4 separate regions of the Homo sapiens genome follow, and regions 2, 3 and 4 are each linked to region 1. Evidence: promoter capture Hi-C in 16 types of primary human blood cells and fetal thymus (Javierre and others, 2016). All regions are on one chromosome and are shown on one strand. The core of a region is centred on a gene start or on the middle of the fragment in contact, and the rest is flanking DNA. Distances in the headings are between cores, read along the strand shown.

Region 1 (3,775 bases), core at 1,221-3,720:
ATATGGTAGTGATGAAAAAACAAAGTCCCTGCCATCATGACCTCTAGTAAAGGGAGATGGACAACAAAGAAACCAGAAAGTTATAATTCAGATGGTGATAAACACTATGGAAAAAAATGAAACAGGGTAAAGGATTAGGGAGTGCCAGGAAGCAAGGAAGGAGGGAAGTTGCTTATATAGGAGGGTCAGGTGACATTTTAGTGGAGACTTGAAGGAAGTGAGGGAGCCGGCCAGGCAGATATCCAGAAGAGCATTCTAGGTAGTAGTTACCGCAAGTGTAAAGGCCCTAAAGCAGGAGGCCAGCATGGCTTGAGCACAAGGATTGAGGGGGACAAAGCAGGGGAGAGGGACAGAGAAGAGGTAGGTGGCCTTAGGGCTCTCATAAGGACTTGGCTCTCACTGAGCGAAATGGAAAGCCCAGGATGGTTTTGAGCAGGCCAGTGACCTGATTGCAGCTGTTTTCAAGGAGTTAGAAAAGACCTCTACCCTAGTGGGTACTGCAGGCTCTGGCTCTGGGATGAGCCACACCCTGTCCCATTCCTGATGAGGGACCTTGGCCTCTCCTAGCCTTAGTTCTTTATCTAAGAAATAATTCCAAGGATTTAGCCAAGTACCCCTCCCTCACTGCAGCTGACCTAACTGGGCCAAGCTTTTGTGTAAGTGGTAGGGAGGAGTTGGAAGGGGAGGGAGGAGAGTGGAGCCAATCCAGAGGCTTGAATGTTTAATGTGGAATTTCCTCTCTCTAGGGGACCACAGGTGGGGGCAGCTTGCAGGGGGAGGTTATTCAGTTCACTAGTATCTAGCCAGCACCTACCCATCCTGAGTCTCGGACTCCTGGCTCAGGGGAGGTGGGGTAGCTAACAAGCTCCAACAGGCCCAGGCACAGTCACAGTGGCCAGAATTGGAGCCATCCATCCTCCCAAGAATCAGGCCTGTCAGGACCTGCCTCCAGAAACCCACTCAGCTGCTCTGTTCTCAGGGAAGGTGGCCTTTCCTGATTCTGCTCCCCCTACCTCCAGCCCCTGAATTAGCACCCTTGGAGTTCAAAACTATTTTCCACGGTTGGAATTTTGTATCAATTAGTAGGATTCTTTGACTATTTTTCCTCTCCCACCATTCTAGAAACTAACGGGCCTGGTGAGGGCTTTGTCTATTTCCTTTCCTGTTGTGGTCCCGGAGTCCCCCAGCACAGTGCCTGGCACGTAAGGGGCACTCAGTAAATGAGCTGAATGAATGAAAGATAGGGGAGTAAGGAAGGTAATGCTGTTCCTTTTTACAGGCAATAAAACAGAGGCCCAGACAGGGTCTGACCTCCTCAGCAGCAGAGCAGGTGACTGCCTTCTGGCCTAATTCCTATAATGGGAGCCACCCAGGAGCATAGGTTCACACCCAAGGACCTCCCAGGCCCTCCCCCATCTTCTCTAAGGGAACTGCAGAGCCAGGCCCTGCCTGACCCCAGAAACAAGACTAGTTTCCCAGGAAAAGATCCTAGGGCAGGAGTGGAGCAAGTGACAGCTTGTTTTTTATTTTATTTTTATTTTATATTTTTTGAGACAGGGTCTTGCTCTGTCACCCAGGCTGGAGTGCAGTGGTGCGATCTCAGCCCACTGCAACCTCTGCCTCCTGGGCTCAATTGATCCTCCCACCTCAGCCACCCGAGTACCTGGGACTACAGGTATCTGCTACTACGCCTGGCTAATTTTTGTGTATTTTTTGTAGAGACAGGGTTTTACCATGTTGCCCAGATTGGTCTCGAACTCCTGGGTTCAAGCGATCCATGCGCCTCAGCCTCCAAAAGTGCTGGGATTACAGGTGTGAGCCACCACTCCCAGACGTGACAGCCTGTTAATAGCAATAATAGCACTTTGAATATACCAGACACTGCTTTTCCACAACTTTTTGAGACATGTTTTGTTAGCAACTCCATTTTACAGATGAAAAAACAGAGGCTCAGGGTGGTAAGTGGCATGCCGAAGGTAGTGGCAGAGCCTAGGTGCTCCAACCCAGGCAGCTGGGCTCAGCCCACTCCGATCCTCTCCAGCTGCCTCTCTGTTACAGCGCAGAACATCAGCAGCATCAGGAGTCATGTGCTCTTCCAGCTCTGCCTTGAGTACCCGATGACCTCGTTTCCTCAGCGGTAGATAGCGATGGTTAATATTGGCTAGCCTGTAGAGTTATCGGGAGACCAACGCACAAAAAGGGTTTAATACCGTGCCCAGCACATAGTAAGTGGTCAATACATGTTAATTGTTGATATTCTTGTTATCTGTGGTGTGTCTGGGCCGGGAGGGAGGGCTGCAGGGCGGTGTCTACGCACACTTTACAGGTGAGGTCATCCCGCGGGCTGGGGGTGCCGGGCCCCTCGCTGGCCCACGCCCAGCCAGGTGCACCCGCGGCGAGAGTCCGGTGGCCTCAGGTCACAGGCCCCTCCCCGCCGGACATTTAAGGAGGGACGCCGGGCGCAGGCGCAGACAGCGCAAGCCCCACGCCACGCGTCGCTGGTCCCAGGCAGCGAGTCGCTCGCGCGCCCCGCCGCCCGCCTGGCGACAGCTCCGCCGCGCACGCACATGGAGGGGAGCGCGAGCCCCCCGGAAAAGCCCCGCGCCCGCCCTGCGGCTGCCGTGCTGTGCCGGGGCCCGGTAGAGCCGCTGGTCTTCCTGGCCAACTTTGCCTTGGTCCTGCAGGGCCCGCTCACCACGCAGTATCTGTGGCACCGCTTCAGCGCCGACCTCGGCTACAATGGCACCCGCCAAAGGGGGGGCTGCAGCAACCGCAGCGCGGACCCCACCATGCAGGTAGCGGGGCGGCGAGGAGCCTGGCAGGTGGAGGGCCCTGGTCTGGAGCGTGGGGGCAGCGGAGGGGCGGGGCCTGCGTAATGGTAGTGGCGGGTAACTGGAGGGAGGGTGCATTTTGGATGGTGGGCGGGACCAGAGCAAAGGGGCCTGACCGAGAACCTCAGCGGGTGGGATGCGAAAAGCTGAGCTAAAGTCTGGCCTTGCAGGTTAACAAAAGGGGGGGGAAAGGAAAGGGAATGGGGCCTTGGTCCATGTCCTTCCCCCTCTCCACTGGCAGATTTTGAAAGCTGTGCTAAGATTCTCTGAGGTTTAGGGCTCCAAAGGAAGTCCTCATCCCTGTAGCTCCCGGGATGGCGAGGATTTGGGGATTGTGGAACCCAGAGTGAGGAACCGCACCCTGGTCATTGTGCCCCTACAGGAAGTGGAGACCCTTACCTCCCACTGGACCCTCTACATGAACGTGGGCGGCTTCCTGGTGGGGCTCTTCTCGTCCACCCTGCTGGGAGCTTGGAGCGACAGTGTGGGCCGCCGCCCGCTGCTAGTGCTGGCCTCGCTGGGCCTGCTGCTCCAGGCCCTAGTGTCCGTTTTTGTGGTGCAGCTGCAGCTCCACGTCGGCTACTTCGTGCTGGGTCGCATCCTTTGTGCCCTCCTCGGCGACTTCGGTGGCCTTCTGGCTGCTAGCTTTGCGTCCGTGGCAGATGTCAGCTCCAGTCGCAGCCGCACCTTCCGGATGGCCCTGCTGGAAGCCAGCATCGGGGTGGCTGGGATGCTGGCAAGCCTCCTCGGGGGCCACTGGCTCCGGGCCCAGGGTTATGCCAACCCCTTCTGGCTGGCCTTGGCCTTGCTGATAGCCATGACTCTCTATGCAGCTTTCTGCTTTGGTGAGACCTTAAAGGAGCCAAAGTCCACCCGGCTCTTCACGTTCCGTCACCACCGATCCATTGTCCAGCTCTATGTGGCTCCCGCCCCAGAGAAGTCCA
Region 2 (3,775 bases), core at 903-3,402, 190 kb before region 1:
CAGACCATGTTTCAAAAAAAAAAAAAATTAGATTAAAAAAAAAAGTTTAAAAAGGCTGGGTGGGGTCGTTCATGACTGTACTCCCAACACTTTGGGAGGCTGAGATGGGAGGATCGCTTGAGCCTAGGAATTCAATACCAGCCTGGGCAATATGGCAAGAGACTGTCTTTATAAAAAATTAGCCAGGCGTGGTGGCACATGCCGGTAGTCCCAGCTACTCAGGAGGCTGAGGCAGGAGGATTGCTTGAACCTAGGAGTTCAAGGCTGCAGTGAGCCATGATTGCACCACTGCACTCCTGCCTGGGTGATAAAGCAAGACCCTGTCTCAAAAGAAAATTAATTTTAATGTATTTTATTTAACCCAATATTCCTAAAATATTTCAATATGTAAACAGTATTAAAAAAAAAAAATATATATATATATATTTTTTTTTTTTTTTGAGACAAGGTCTTGCTTTGTCGCCCAGGCTAGAGTGCAGTGGGATGATCATAGCTCACAGCAGCCTTGAACTAGGTTCAAGCGATCCTCCCAAGCTGGGATTATAGGTGTGTGCCCCCAACCCTGCCACCCCTGGCTTAACTTTTTTTTTTTTTTGAGACGGAGTCTAGCTCTGTCACCCAGGCTGGAGTGTAGTGGTGCCATCTCAGCTCACTGCAACCTCCGCCTCCCAGGTTCAAGAGATTCTTCCTGCCTCAGCCTCCCAAGTAGCTGGGATTACAGGCGTGTGCCACCACACCTGGCTAATTTTTGTATTTTTAGTAGAAACGGGGTTTCGCCGTGTTGGGCAGGCTGGTCTCGAACTCCTGACCTCAGGTGATCCGCCTGCCTCGGCCTCCCGAAGTGCGGGATTATAGGCGTGAGCCACCGTGCCCGGCCCAAATTTTTTTTTTGTAGACATAGGTCTCACTATATTGCCGAGGCAGGTCTCGAACTCCTGGGCTTAAAGGATCCTCCTGCCTCTGTCTCCTCCGTGCTGGGATTACAGGCATGAGCCACCGCACCTGGCGATATTTTGCATTCTTTTTTTCATACGACGTGTTTGAAATCCAGTTTGTACAGTGTTTTACATTTATAGCACATTCCCACTGGGACTAGTCACATCTGAAGTGCTCAAAAGCCACTATGGCTAGGGCTAACGTACTGGACAACACAATGCTAGAGGAGCCCGTCCCTGAGGACGCTGCAGTTTATAACATCATAGTTCCTCCTCTTTGGACTGCTGCTTTCCCCCTATGTATTAAGACTTGCAGAGTGTAAACAGGGCGCCGTGAGTGTGCAAAGCACACACACCTTCGCAAACGGCTCACTCTGAATACTGACCTTTCGGCTGTCCTACCTTCAACAGGTTTCCCGTGCATAGGAGATCCAAGACAGCAGAAGGCAGGAGCTGGCGGGACAGGGAGGAAGAGCGGCTCTGCCGTTTACTATCTGTGTGACGCTGAGCAAATTACACACGGTCTCTCTGACTCAGCTCCTTCCTGTCACAAATGGGGATATTTATAGTATTTCTCACTACGTAGGTCCTTATGCGCATTAAATGAGCTACTACACGGCATTCGGCATAGCGCCAGGCACACACTCAATGTTCAATACATGTAGGCGGTTAGCCCAGTAAACTGGTAGCCGGCCTGAGTAAGTCCCAGGAAAAGCCCAGAAACTCTGGAGACATTACAGCCCAGGTCGAGAACCACGGCCCGGGCCGTCCCGGACGCGGGCCCACCAAGCCTAGGGAAGCCGCTCGGCACCGCTTCGGCTTCTAGACTCCCTGGCCGGCTCTTTCCCGTCAAGGCTGCGGCTGGAGAGGACTGAGGGAGACCTAGGGAGAGGATTCCTCTTCTCCATCCACGGAGACAACTTGGATATGAACACCATGGATGTGAGGAGGTCCGCTGGAAGCAGGAGGGATGGACTCCTGGACTCTCCAGCTACCTGCGTGGTCCTCCCCGGTGTGAGGACAGAAGACCGGTCCTGGGCCGGGCCCGCATCCAGCCCTACCGCCGGTGTCTGAGGTGAGGGCTCCGTCAGCGGAAAACGCTCGACAACGGAGGGGCAGGCAGGGCCGGGGGCGTGGTCAACGCGGGCCCCGCCCCCCGGGCTCTACCCCCGAGCGTACGCGCGCGCCTGAAGCAGCCAACCAGGAAGCGCAGAGCAGGTTCAAACACAGACGGCGGGTGAACATGGCGTCCTCGACTTGGTCTGAGACGTGATAGGCCTGCCTTCTGGTTGAAGATGTGGCGAGTGAAAAAACTGAGCCTCAGCCTGTCGCCTTCGCCCCAGACGGTAAGCGGGAGATCTCTGGCGGAGAGAACTGGGCCGGGCTGCTGTCGCGGGGGCACCGGCCGTGTCTACTGTCCTGGAAAGTTGGGTCGAGCCCGGGGTTGGGGGCTTGTGGAGTCTTTGTTCGCCTTGCTGCTCCTGCGCGACTAGGGTGCGAGCGTACTCTTCTAATCGCATTTTGGGCTTCTTAGGGAGGGAGGAGGGGCGGGCTGGCAGAACCCAGGCTTCCTCACACTCGCCCTCTTTCTTGGTTTCTTTCTCAGGGAAAACCATCTATGAGAACTCCTCTCCGTGAACTTACCCTGCAGCCCGGTGCCCTCACCAACTCTGGAAAAAGATCCCCCGCTTGCTCCTCGCTGACCCCATCACTGTGCAAGCTGGGGCTGCAGGTGAGATTCGCCTGGACAGCTTCTCGACTGGGCTGTTTGCCCAGGGTGAGAGCTCAGGGGAACAGAGGGCCAGGGCTACAATAATTAATAACGATAATGAAGTCTTCTACGTCGGTGACATCCATTTACAGCTATTCAGGCCAACAGAGAGGTGCCCTAGGGTGGTTAAAGGAAATCCAGTGAGAACTTGAATCTCTGTTTAGCTGTTAGTTTTTATTACCTCCTCCTCCTCCCTTCGACCTTTATCAAACTATTGAGAAATCCTACCACCCTGATTAGTGCTCTTCCTCCAACATGGGGTCACTTACGGAAAGGTCAGTCACCTGCAAGATTGAGGCAATATCCATTTACTCTAGGAGGTAGTTAGAACTCTCCTGGGATCAAGTTACACCACTGGAAGGTAGGGTACTTGAATCACCTTAGTTTAAACTAGCTCCTTGCAGAATTGCCCTCACTGATTTGTACTTTTGTTAAACGTTTTGAGAGACGTAGCCATGTAGAAACTGCATTTCAGTTGCTGTCAAAACTTGTCAAGGAAGCAGCTTGACTCCTGTATAAGATTCCTCCAAGAAAGGCTTTAGGACTAACTGCCTGGAAAAATTGTCTTCCTGAAGAAATTGCTATCCTTTTCTTTCTGATAATGAGAACTATGTAGTTTACCATATTTTCCCTCTTGCTCTGCCTTCTAGAAAGCTCAAGGCCAAACTGGATCATCACATACAGCTACTGTTATAGCTGTATAGGAAGTTTTGCTTCCTCTTTTTTGACCATGACTTTGTTATTTCATTAATCGTATCTATTCATTTTCATGCATATGAATTATTTTTGGAAGGAGATGGGATATCAATAAAATAGGTATGAGGAGGAAAGAAGAGTGTATAGACAGATGACATCCTGAGTAACAGAAGTATGATGATAGCATAGCAGTCTTTCTTGAAAGAGTTGCAAAATACCTACTGTCCAATAGAACTTTCTGGGATGAGGGAAATATTTGATAATCTGTGCTGTCCAGCATGGTAACTACTAGTCACATGGTTATTGAGCACTTAAAACGTGGCTGAGGTGACTGAAGAATTGAATTTTTTTGTTTTTGAGACGGAGTCTTGCT
Region 3 (3,775 bases), core at 708-3,207, 170 kb before region 1:
GTGGGCTAAGCATGGGTCAGGCACTCTCTCCTACCTCCTGGCAAGGGCTGTGAAGAGACCAGCTCTTCATGTGTCTTCTCACCTCCCTTTCCCTCACAGAATGAAAAGGAGCTCCAGGAAGTGATACAGCAGCAGAATGAGAAGATCCTAGAACAGATAGACAAGAGTGGCGAGCTCATAGTATGTTCACCATCATGCCCAGGCCTTTGCCTTCTGTGTTACTGGTCAGCCAGGATCCCAAGTATGAGAAATGGTTTGCTTTTGTTCACCACATGTTGTCTATCCTTATGTCCTATTGGACACCTCTCCATTCTCATTCCCAGAGCCTTAGAGAGGAGGTGACCCACCTTACCCGCTCACTTCGGCGTGCGGAGACAGAGACCAAAGTGCTCCAGGAGGCCCTGGCAGGCCAGCTGGACTCCAACTGCCAGCCTATGGCCACCAATTGGATCCAGGAGAAAGTGTGGCTCTCTCAGGAGGTGACTCAGAGTTAACAGAGGAGCTGGACAGCAGGTGGGGACCCCAGGCTGTACCCCTGTTGATCTGGACATATTTCTAGGTGGACAAACTGAGAGTGATGTTCCTGGAGATGAAAAATGAGAAGGAAAAACTCATGATCAAGTTCCAGAGCCATGTAAGAATGTCCATGCCATTCCAGGGCCATTTCCTACCATCGTTAACAAATGCCCCGCCATGTTTCCCCTGTCCTACCAAGTTTGCTCTTTTATGCATAGGACTTATAAAATCTGTTTGCTTTCTAGAGAAATATCCTAGAGGAGAACCTTCGGCGCTCTGACAAGGAGTTAGAAAAACTAGATGACATTGTTCAGCATATTTATAAGGTATAGGCAGGAGGGAGGTGATATCACTAATGAACCTGGTACAAGGCCTGGCCCCAGGAGGTACTAATGAGCACAGATCTGGTTCCCAGCCTGTGCTGAGAGCTGGGCCTGAATCACTATTGCAGGCTTCTCTGTGGTGTCTGTTTTCTCCCCTCTAATTCAGCGGCTGCCTCCTGGGGCTGGGAGCCCTGGGCCTTAAGTCTGTGGTCCTGAGCTGCGTTTTCTGCCTCTCTTCCCAGACCCTGCTCTCTATTCCAGAGGTGGTGAGGGGATGCAAAGAACTACAGGGATTGCTGGAATTTCTGAGCTAAGAAACTGAAAGCCAGAATCTGCTTCACCTCTTTTTACCTGCAATACCCCCTTACCCCAATACCAAGACCAACTGGCATAGAGCCAACTGAGATAAATGCTATTTAAATAAAGTGTATTTAATGAATTTCTCCAAGCTTACGGAATCTTACTTTTTGGGTGAGAGGGGGCGGATGATGAAGTCAGGGAAGAAGCAGCTTGGGCCTCCTGCCTGGGCACCCTCCATAGATCCCTCTCCACCTCCTGCTGCATCCAAAGCCAAGGCTGCCTGCCCTTCCTCCCTTCCTCTGCTTTCACCAAAACTCTGGGCACTGGACTGCTTGTTCCCTGGCTCACCGCCTGGAGGAAACAGAAAGGCTTCATTCTCTTACTTTCCCCAGCCCCCTCGGGGGTATACCCTGGCAAATATGGGGGTGAGGACAGAGAAGCTCAGTTCATTACTTCCTGCCCTGAACTTGGGCACCTTGAAGATGCTTCTGCCCCACCTACTCAACCTGTTGTTACTGTTCTGGTGCCTCCTCTTCACCAGACTAAGCTTAATCCCCAGCATCCAGCAAGTGCCCGGCACGTGGTAAAGGGATTGTGGCAGAAATGAACGCAAGGTCATGGCCAGGCTCCCCGAGGTGGGAGGGCAGTCCCTAACAGCCACGGATGCCTGGCGGGGCGCTCACTCCACCTCGCCGCCCCGCCTCTGAGGGCGTGGTCTTGCCCCGGACACCAGTCCTGGGGAGGGGGTGTGGTCAGGGCGGGGCATGCAGGCCACGCCCCCGGAGGAGTCACGTAGCTCTGCGACATCCGCAGCCTCATTTACCAGAGGGAGCCAGGGCTGCAGCCTCATCTGTTTGCGGATCAGAACCCGAGCTGTGCTTGTGGCTGCGGCTGCTAACTGGCTGCGCACAGGTAAGGCCAGGCAAGGCGGGAGCCACTCAACATCTCCGCTTCATTTCCTTGGCTCTTCCCCTGCCATCCTCGTCCTGCTACCTGGGACTCCGGGATGTGCCCTTTCGACCCTTTCCTAACATCTTTGCTCCTTTCCGCGTACTTGAAACCCCATGGCTCAACCTCTTCTGTTCTATCCCTCTTCAGCTCTCCCAGCTGGACCTCAGCTTTTCCAATCCCAAATCCTCCTCTACTTGTTGGATTTTTCCTTGGAGTCTGTCTCTCCTACCCAGAGCATTTCCTTCTCAGCCTGCTCCCTCTCCTCCTAGGCTAGGTCCTCTCTCCAGTTCTCCCGCCTTCTCTGCCCCCCGGTCTAGGTCTCTCCCGCTGACTGGTTAGCCTGCATCACCACTAGCTCCCCTCAGTCTCATCTCTCTCTCAGGCTCTCTACTCCTTTCAGCCTTGGTCCTCTGCCCTCCCGTCTGGGTGTCTGAGTTGTGGGGAATTGAAGTGCTTCCTATTGCTATCCTCCTGCCAAACAGGTGAAGTGCTTCCTGGGCACAGAGATGACCCGGAGGTGTCACTAGCCCTAGTCTCCACACACTAACACAGCTGACCCGCTGGGCCCTCTTTCCTACATCACTGCAGCCCCACTGGGGCCAACCTCTGGTACTGGGTGGGAATAGGCAATAGGCATAGGCAGGCAGGTTTGGAGTACAGAAAAGGAGAAGCTGCAGGAGCCTGTGACTGGTATTTGTGCCACTCCTACTCCCTACCTGTTCTTCCAACCTTTTCCTCTAGAAGCTGAGAGAAGAGGGTGGCAATAAGTACTTTTGCCTCATTCTGAAGCCTTGGAAGTAAGTACACTTTCCCTAGGGGTCCTGTGGAGGATGAGAAAAGGGAAGCTGGAAAGGCCAGGACTTTTGCCTACCTCAACAAGGGACCAAGTTCAGTGAAAGAAGGGTTGGCATCCTTGATTGGGCAGCAGATTTATCAGAAGAGCTGTGGCTTCAGGGCTGCTCACCTCCCCACCCCCACCCTGCATCTTTCCCCAGGGCTGGGAAGGATGCCTACCAGGGACAAAAGGAGATGTGGGAACTGGAGCCCTAAGCTTGCTAGCTGTCAGAAGGACTGGTGCCACTTGATGCCCAGGACTCATGCCAAGGACTGCTGCCCTGTTCCCAGCCCCTTGCTTGATGGGGAGGCCATTTGGCCCATCTGGCCAGGAGAGGCAGCAGAGGGTGAGGTCTGGCTTTTTTATCTTGTCTCCACTCCAGGGAGCTGTCACCATGCCTCACTCGTACCCAGCCCTTTCTGCTGAGCAGAAGAAGGAGTTGTCTGACATTGCCCTGCGGATTGTAGCCCCGGGCAAAGGCATTCTGGCTGCGGATGAGTCTGTAGGTAAGTGGACATCTGTAGCCAGGTAGGGTACAGGTGGCTAGGGGACCCTGGGGATGTTCTCACTGCCTCTCTTTGTTTGCCCCTAGGCAGCATGGCCAAGCGGCTGAGCCAAATTGGGGTGGAAAACACAGAGGAGAACCGCCGGCTGTACCGCCAGGTCCTGTTCAGTGCTGATGACCGTGTGAAAAAGTGCATTGGAGGCGTCATTTTCTTCCATGAGACCCTCTACCAGAAAGATGATAATGGTGTTCCCTTCGTCCGAACCATCCAGGATAAGGGCATCGTCGTGGGCATCAAGGTGCAGCCCCTGGCCCTGCTCTGAATGGAAGCTGGGTGTGAAAATA
Region 4 (3,775 bases), core at 704-3,203, 140 kb before region 1:
TCTCCCAAAGTCATCTAGCCAGCCTTGGCAGAGCGGAGGCCAGAATGAGGACCCTCAACTCCAGAGTGGGAGAGAGAGTGTTCAGGAGGTGGCCTTGTCCTCTACCCTTCTCTGCCCTGCCCTTCCCTGGCCCCCAGAGACCAGTAGGATGGCACTCCTTATCCCCTGTTAGATCCCCATGGCGGAGTTATGTCTCTTCCACACTGGGGGTGTACCCCAAGGGCAGGGACTGAGGTCCCTCTTTCCAGAGGGCAGTGATCCCAGGGATGAGAAGATGGTAGCTACTCTGGGGTCCCACACAAGCTGACCTGGCAGCAGGGGCTTTGCGGCCCCTTCCTTGCTCAGCTGCCTGTTTCCCCTAGACTACCTCTGCTCCCCTGAGGAGAATATCTACAAGATCGACTTTGTCAGGTTTAAGATTCGGGACATGGACTCAGGCACTGTCCTCTTTGAAATCAAGAAGCCCCCAGTCTCAGGTGAGTGGGCTGGGTGGGCCATTGATGGGGAGGCAGATAGGAGCTGCGGAGTGGGCTGCCCAGGGAATCCTTGGGCCACAGAGGAGTCCACAGAGCTGGGGCTTGGACCCCAGCATTCTCAGGAGTCTGCAGGCAGGGGGGCCCTTTCTTTTCCTTCCCATATGTTTCTGAGGCTGGACATCTTGCGAGGTCAGCCCTACCCCTTCGGTCCCTGCCAACCTGCCCTCTGCAGGGCTCTCTGGGAACTGCAGTCCTACGGGTCCCAGGCCTCAGCATCCTGTGGCCCGGGGAAGCACAGTGGCGATTGGGAACATGCAGACCTAGAACCCCTAGGTGGCACTATTTGGCCAATGGTCTGAGCCCTCAGTGTGCCCCGGAATTTCTTGGGGAGTTTAAAAAAAATCAGATAGATGGGGACCCAAGGGTAGAACCCTGGGTGGACAAGGGCCCAGCCTGAAGCCCACTGAGCCCCAGCTGGGGTACATTGCAGAACGGTTGCCCATCAACCGGCGGGACCTGGACCCCAATGCTGGGCGCTTTGTCCGCTACCAGTTCACGCCTGCCTTCCTCCGCCTGAGGCAGGTGGGAGCCACGTGAGTCGCTGGGCTATGGGTGGTGGTGGGGGTGAGGGAGAGGGTGTGAGTGGGCCCTTCTCAGCCTCTCGTAGGGGTGGCCTGTCCTGAGCCTGGCTGGCTAGTTGACTTCAAGGACAGACTTAGCCCTGCCTCCTTTTCTTGCTCAGGGTGGAGTTCACAGTGGGAGACAAGCCTGTCAACAACTTCCGCATGATCGAGAGGCACTACTTCCGCAACCAGCTACTCAAAAGCTTCGACTTCCACTTTGGCTTCTGCATCCCCAGCAGCAAGAACACCTGCGAGCACATTTACGACTTCCCCCCTCTCTCCGAGGAGCTGAGTGCGCGGGCAGGGTCTTCTGGGAGTGGGGAAGTGGGGGCGTCTAGAGACTGAGCTGCGGGAGGGAGAGGGACTTGTGGGTCTGATCCCATTTCTCCCCACCCTGGGGCTCTTCTGTGTCTGCCACCATTCCCATATCATCCGTAGAGAAAGAGGCTGGGGATATTTCAGGCTGTTTGGCTGTCCCTGTACCCCAGTCCTGAAGCCCCTGCAGTGGCGGGACTCAAGCTCCTGACCTTTGCCCGGCCTGGCTGGGCCTCTCTTGCAGTCAGCGAGATGATCCGCCACCCGTATGAGACCCAGTCTGACAGCTTCTACTTCGTGGATGACCGGCTGGTGATGCACAATAAAGCAGACTATTCCTACAGCGGGACACCCTGACCCCACGGCTGCCCTGACCCCAGGAGGCTCCAGTTCTGGGCTGGGAGCTGTGACCTCCCCAACGCTCACCCCTCAACCCCAAGTCCTCTGCTTGGGGAGTTCTCCAGGAGCTCCGGACCCTGAGTCAATGTTGGGAGGAAGGGTACCTGGTGTCCCCAGTCAAGCCCATGAAGCCCATGCGGCCTGCTACATGGGGTGGGGTCGTAGGGAGGCTGTTTGCCTCCACGTCTAGGAAGGCCTGTGAGAGGAGCAGTCAGGACTTCCGGACAACTTAGCTGGGCCCTACTTGGGCCCAAGTTTCAGAATAGTGTTCCCCTATCAAGGCTGTGACTAGATCAGGCAGGGATCCATTCCCTGTCCCCTGCCCACTACCTTCAGGCCATTTAGAGTTGTAAATTTACAAAGATCCACGGTGGGCTCCAGCTGCCAAGCCACCCAAGGGAGTCTGGGCCCTAGGCCTAGCCCCATCCCTCCCCATGAGGGGCCAAGACACTGCCTAAGGTGTGGGAGGGACTGGCTGAGATTGCAGCCCATGGTAGGAGCTGGACCAACTGTATATAGTTTTCAATAAACTTTTTCCTTTTCTGTTCTCTGGTGTGGCCAGCCTCTGTGTGTATGGGCAAAGAAGGGAGCAGGGATAGGCAGGAATGTGCTTAAGGCAGTAAAAATTTCTCCTACCTCCCACATTCCAGTGCACTCTCACCCCTTAGTCTTCCTGTCCCCTGATTCTCTGTACCCTGACACCATATAGAGTCAGCATTTAGAACATGATGGAGCTGGAGAGGGTCTTTCTTGTGATGAAGGAGACCCAGACCCTGAGAGGGGAAGCTTTGGCCCAAAGTCAGAGCCAACCCTGGCAGAACAGAGGCCGAAACAAAGGCCCTGAACTCCAGGGTGCAAGGGGAAGGTGTGGGGGGTGGGGGTTTGGCCTTGTCCTCCACGCTACCTTCCCTGAACCCCAGAGGCCACTAGGACCACTGGGTTGTGTTTTTAGCCCTCATGATAGACGGTGGCAGGGCTTTGGCTAAGGCCTGGAGCCATCTCCTTGCCCTCAGCTGCCTTGGGGAGCCCCCATGCCTGGGTAGCCCTGCACATAACACTGCCCTCAGCCTCCACCCCCACCCCAGACTCAGAGGAGGGGGCTGCTTAATGGAGGAAATTCAGGAACTGAGGTGGGCAGAGAGCACACCCTACAGTTTCAGGCCCTCCTTCAGATATGCCCAGAGCTGACGCACCCTCTGGGCTGAGGAGCTCTGGCCCTAGGAGGCCCAGAAGTGCTGGCATTCAGCTTGATTCTGTGAAGCCCTTGCTGGGGGAAGTGGGGTGGAGCTAGGATCTGCACTGAATTCTGGGAATTCTGAAATGAGTGAGACACAAGGAACACATACTCGTCCCTAGGGAAAAAAAAAGGACTGGGGACACGGAGAGCAAGAATCAGAGTCGTTCTGTGTGGAGGGTTCTGGGGAGGATTTTTAGAGGAGGTAGCACTGGAGCAGGTGCTTGTGATGGAAATTGATGGGGAAGAGTGCTTAGGCACAGGGAACAGCATAAACAAAGGCTCAGAGGCAAGATTTGTCAGGTGTTTGTTTGTTTGTTTACTTATTTATTTGAGATGGGGTCTCCCTCTCAAACTCCTGGGCTCAAGGGATTTTCCTGCCTTGGCCTCCCAAAGTGCCAGGATTATGGGCATAAGCCTAGGTGTGTTCAAGAGTCAATATGATGTGAAAAGAAGACAGATTGGCAGAGCCTTAGGAGCAGGGCTTCTGAGAAGTGGGGAGCCCCTGTGGAGGATTAAGTGGGCATGACCTGGTCAGATTATCTCTGGCTGCTGAGTGAATGGTGGATTGGAAAGAATGACACTAATAGCCAAGATTTACTGAGTGCCAGGCTGGGTGCTCTACATGTGTTAACTCATAAACATGGTCATTTCTGAGGAAGGCACTATTATGATGCCCATTTTACAGAAAATGTAGGTCCAGAGAGGTTAATGTACCCAGCCAACGT

Evidence for each region. The method cuts DNA at HindIII sites, captures the fragments that hold promoters and counts their contacts. A CHiCAGO score of 5 or more calls a contact.
Region 2: the fragment with the promoter of SPAG5 here is called in contact with the fragment with the promoter of SLC46A1 in region 1 in 5 of 17 cell types (endothelial precursors, naive CD8 T cells, total CD8 T cells and 2 more); the score reaches 7.6 in endothelial precursors.
Region 3: the fragment with the promoter of ALDOC here is called in contact with the fragment with the promoter of SLC46A1 in region 1 in 4 of 17 cell types (erythroblasts, megakaryocytes, naive CD4 T cells and 1 more); the score reaches 5.6 in erythroblasts.
Region 4: a fragment that was not itself captured here is called in contact with the fragment with the promoter of SLC46A1 in region 1 in 2 of 17 cell types (M0 macrophages and M1 macrophages); the score reaches 5.3 in M0 macrophages.

What each region holds. Positions count from the first base shown.
Region 1 is chr17:28,404,907-28,408,681 of GRCh38, reverse strand. SLC46A1 (solute carrier family 46 member 1) reads left to right here and starts at 2,470. Exons shown (of 5, transcript NM_080669.6): 1 at 2,470-2,795; 2 at 3,214-3,775. The coding sequence starts at 2,568. RefSeq lists enhancers at 1-315, 3,456-3,775 and silencers at 2,289-2,628, 2,829-2,988. The HindIII fragment of the contact is 6,961 bases long and covers 652-3,775 here.
Region 2 is chr17:28,597,402-28,601,176 of GRCh38, reverse strand. SPAG5 (sperm associated antigen 5) reads left to right here and starts at 2,152. Exons shown (of 24, transcript NM_006461.4): 1 at 2,152-2,281; 2 at 2,542-2,667. The coding sequence starts at 2,231. It overlaps SPAG5-AS1 (SPAG5 antisense RNA 1), which reads right to left and starts at 2,044. Exons shown (of 3, transcript NR_040012.1): 1 at 1,931-2,044; 2 at 1,322-1,479. RefSeq lists enhancers at 1,642-1,721, 1,946-2,490 and a silencer at 1,932-2,241. The HindIII fragment of the contact is 7,511 bases long and covers 1-3,775 here.
Region 3 is chr17:28,575,077-28,578,851 of GRCh38, reverse strand. It overlaps ALDOC (aldolase, fructose-bisphosphate C), which reads left to right and starts at 1,957. Exons shown (of 9, transcript NM_005165.3): 1 at 1,957-2,051; 2 at 3,308-3,431; 3 at 3,518-3,729. The coding sequence starts at 3,320. SPAG5 (sperm associated antigen 5) reads left to right here. Exons shown (of 24, transcript NM_006461.4): 20 at 100-180; 21 at 324-479; 22 at 560-634; 23 at 762-842; 24 at 1,082-1,278. The coding sequence ends at 1,153. RefSeq lists an enhancer at 1,555-1,734 and a silencer at 1,785-2,024. The HindIII fragment of the contact is 1,455 bases long and covers 1,689-3,143 here.
Region 4 is chr17:28,545,293-28,549,067 of GRCh38, reverse strand. UNC119 (unc-119 lipid binding chaperone) reads left to right here. Exons shown (of 5, transcript NM_005148.4): 2 at 363-476; 3 at 967-1,069; 4 at 1,219-1,391; 5 at 1,659-2,360. The coding sequence ends at 1,771. Among named protein-coding and RNA genes, the nearest start is that of UNC119, 5.4 kb to the left of the region's middle. RefSeq lists enhancers at 460-1,296, 1,280-1,329, 1,350-1,459, 1,297-2,134. The HindIII fragment of the contact is 1,297 bases long and covers 1,305-2,601 here.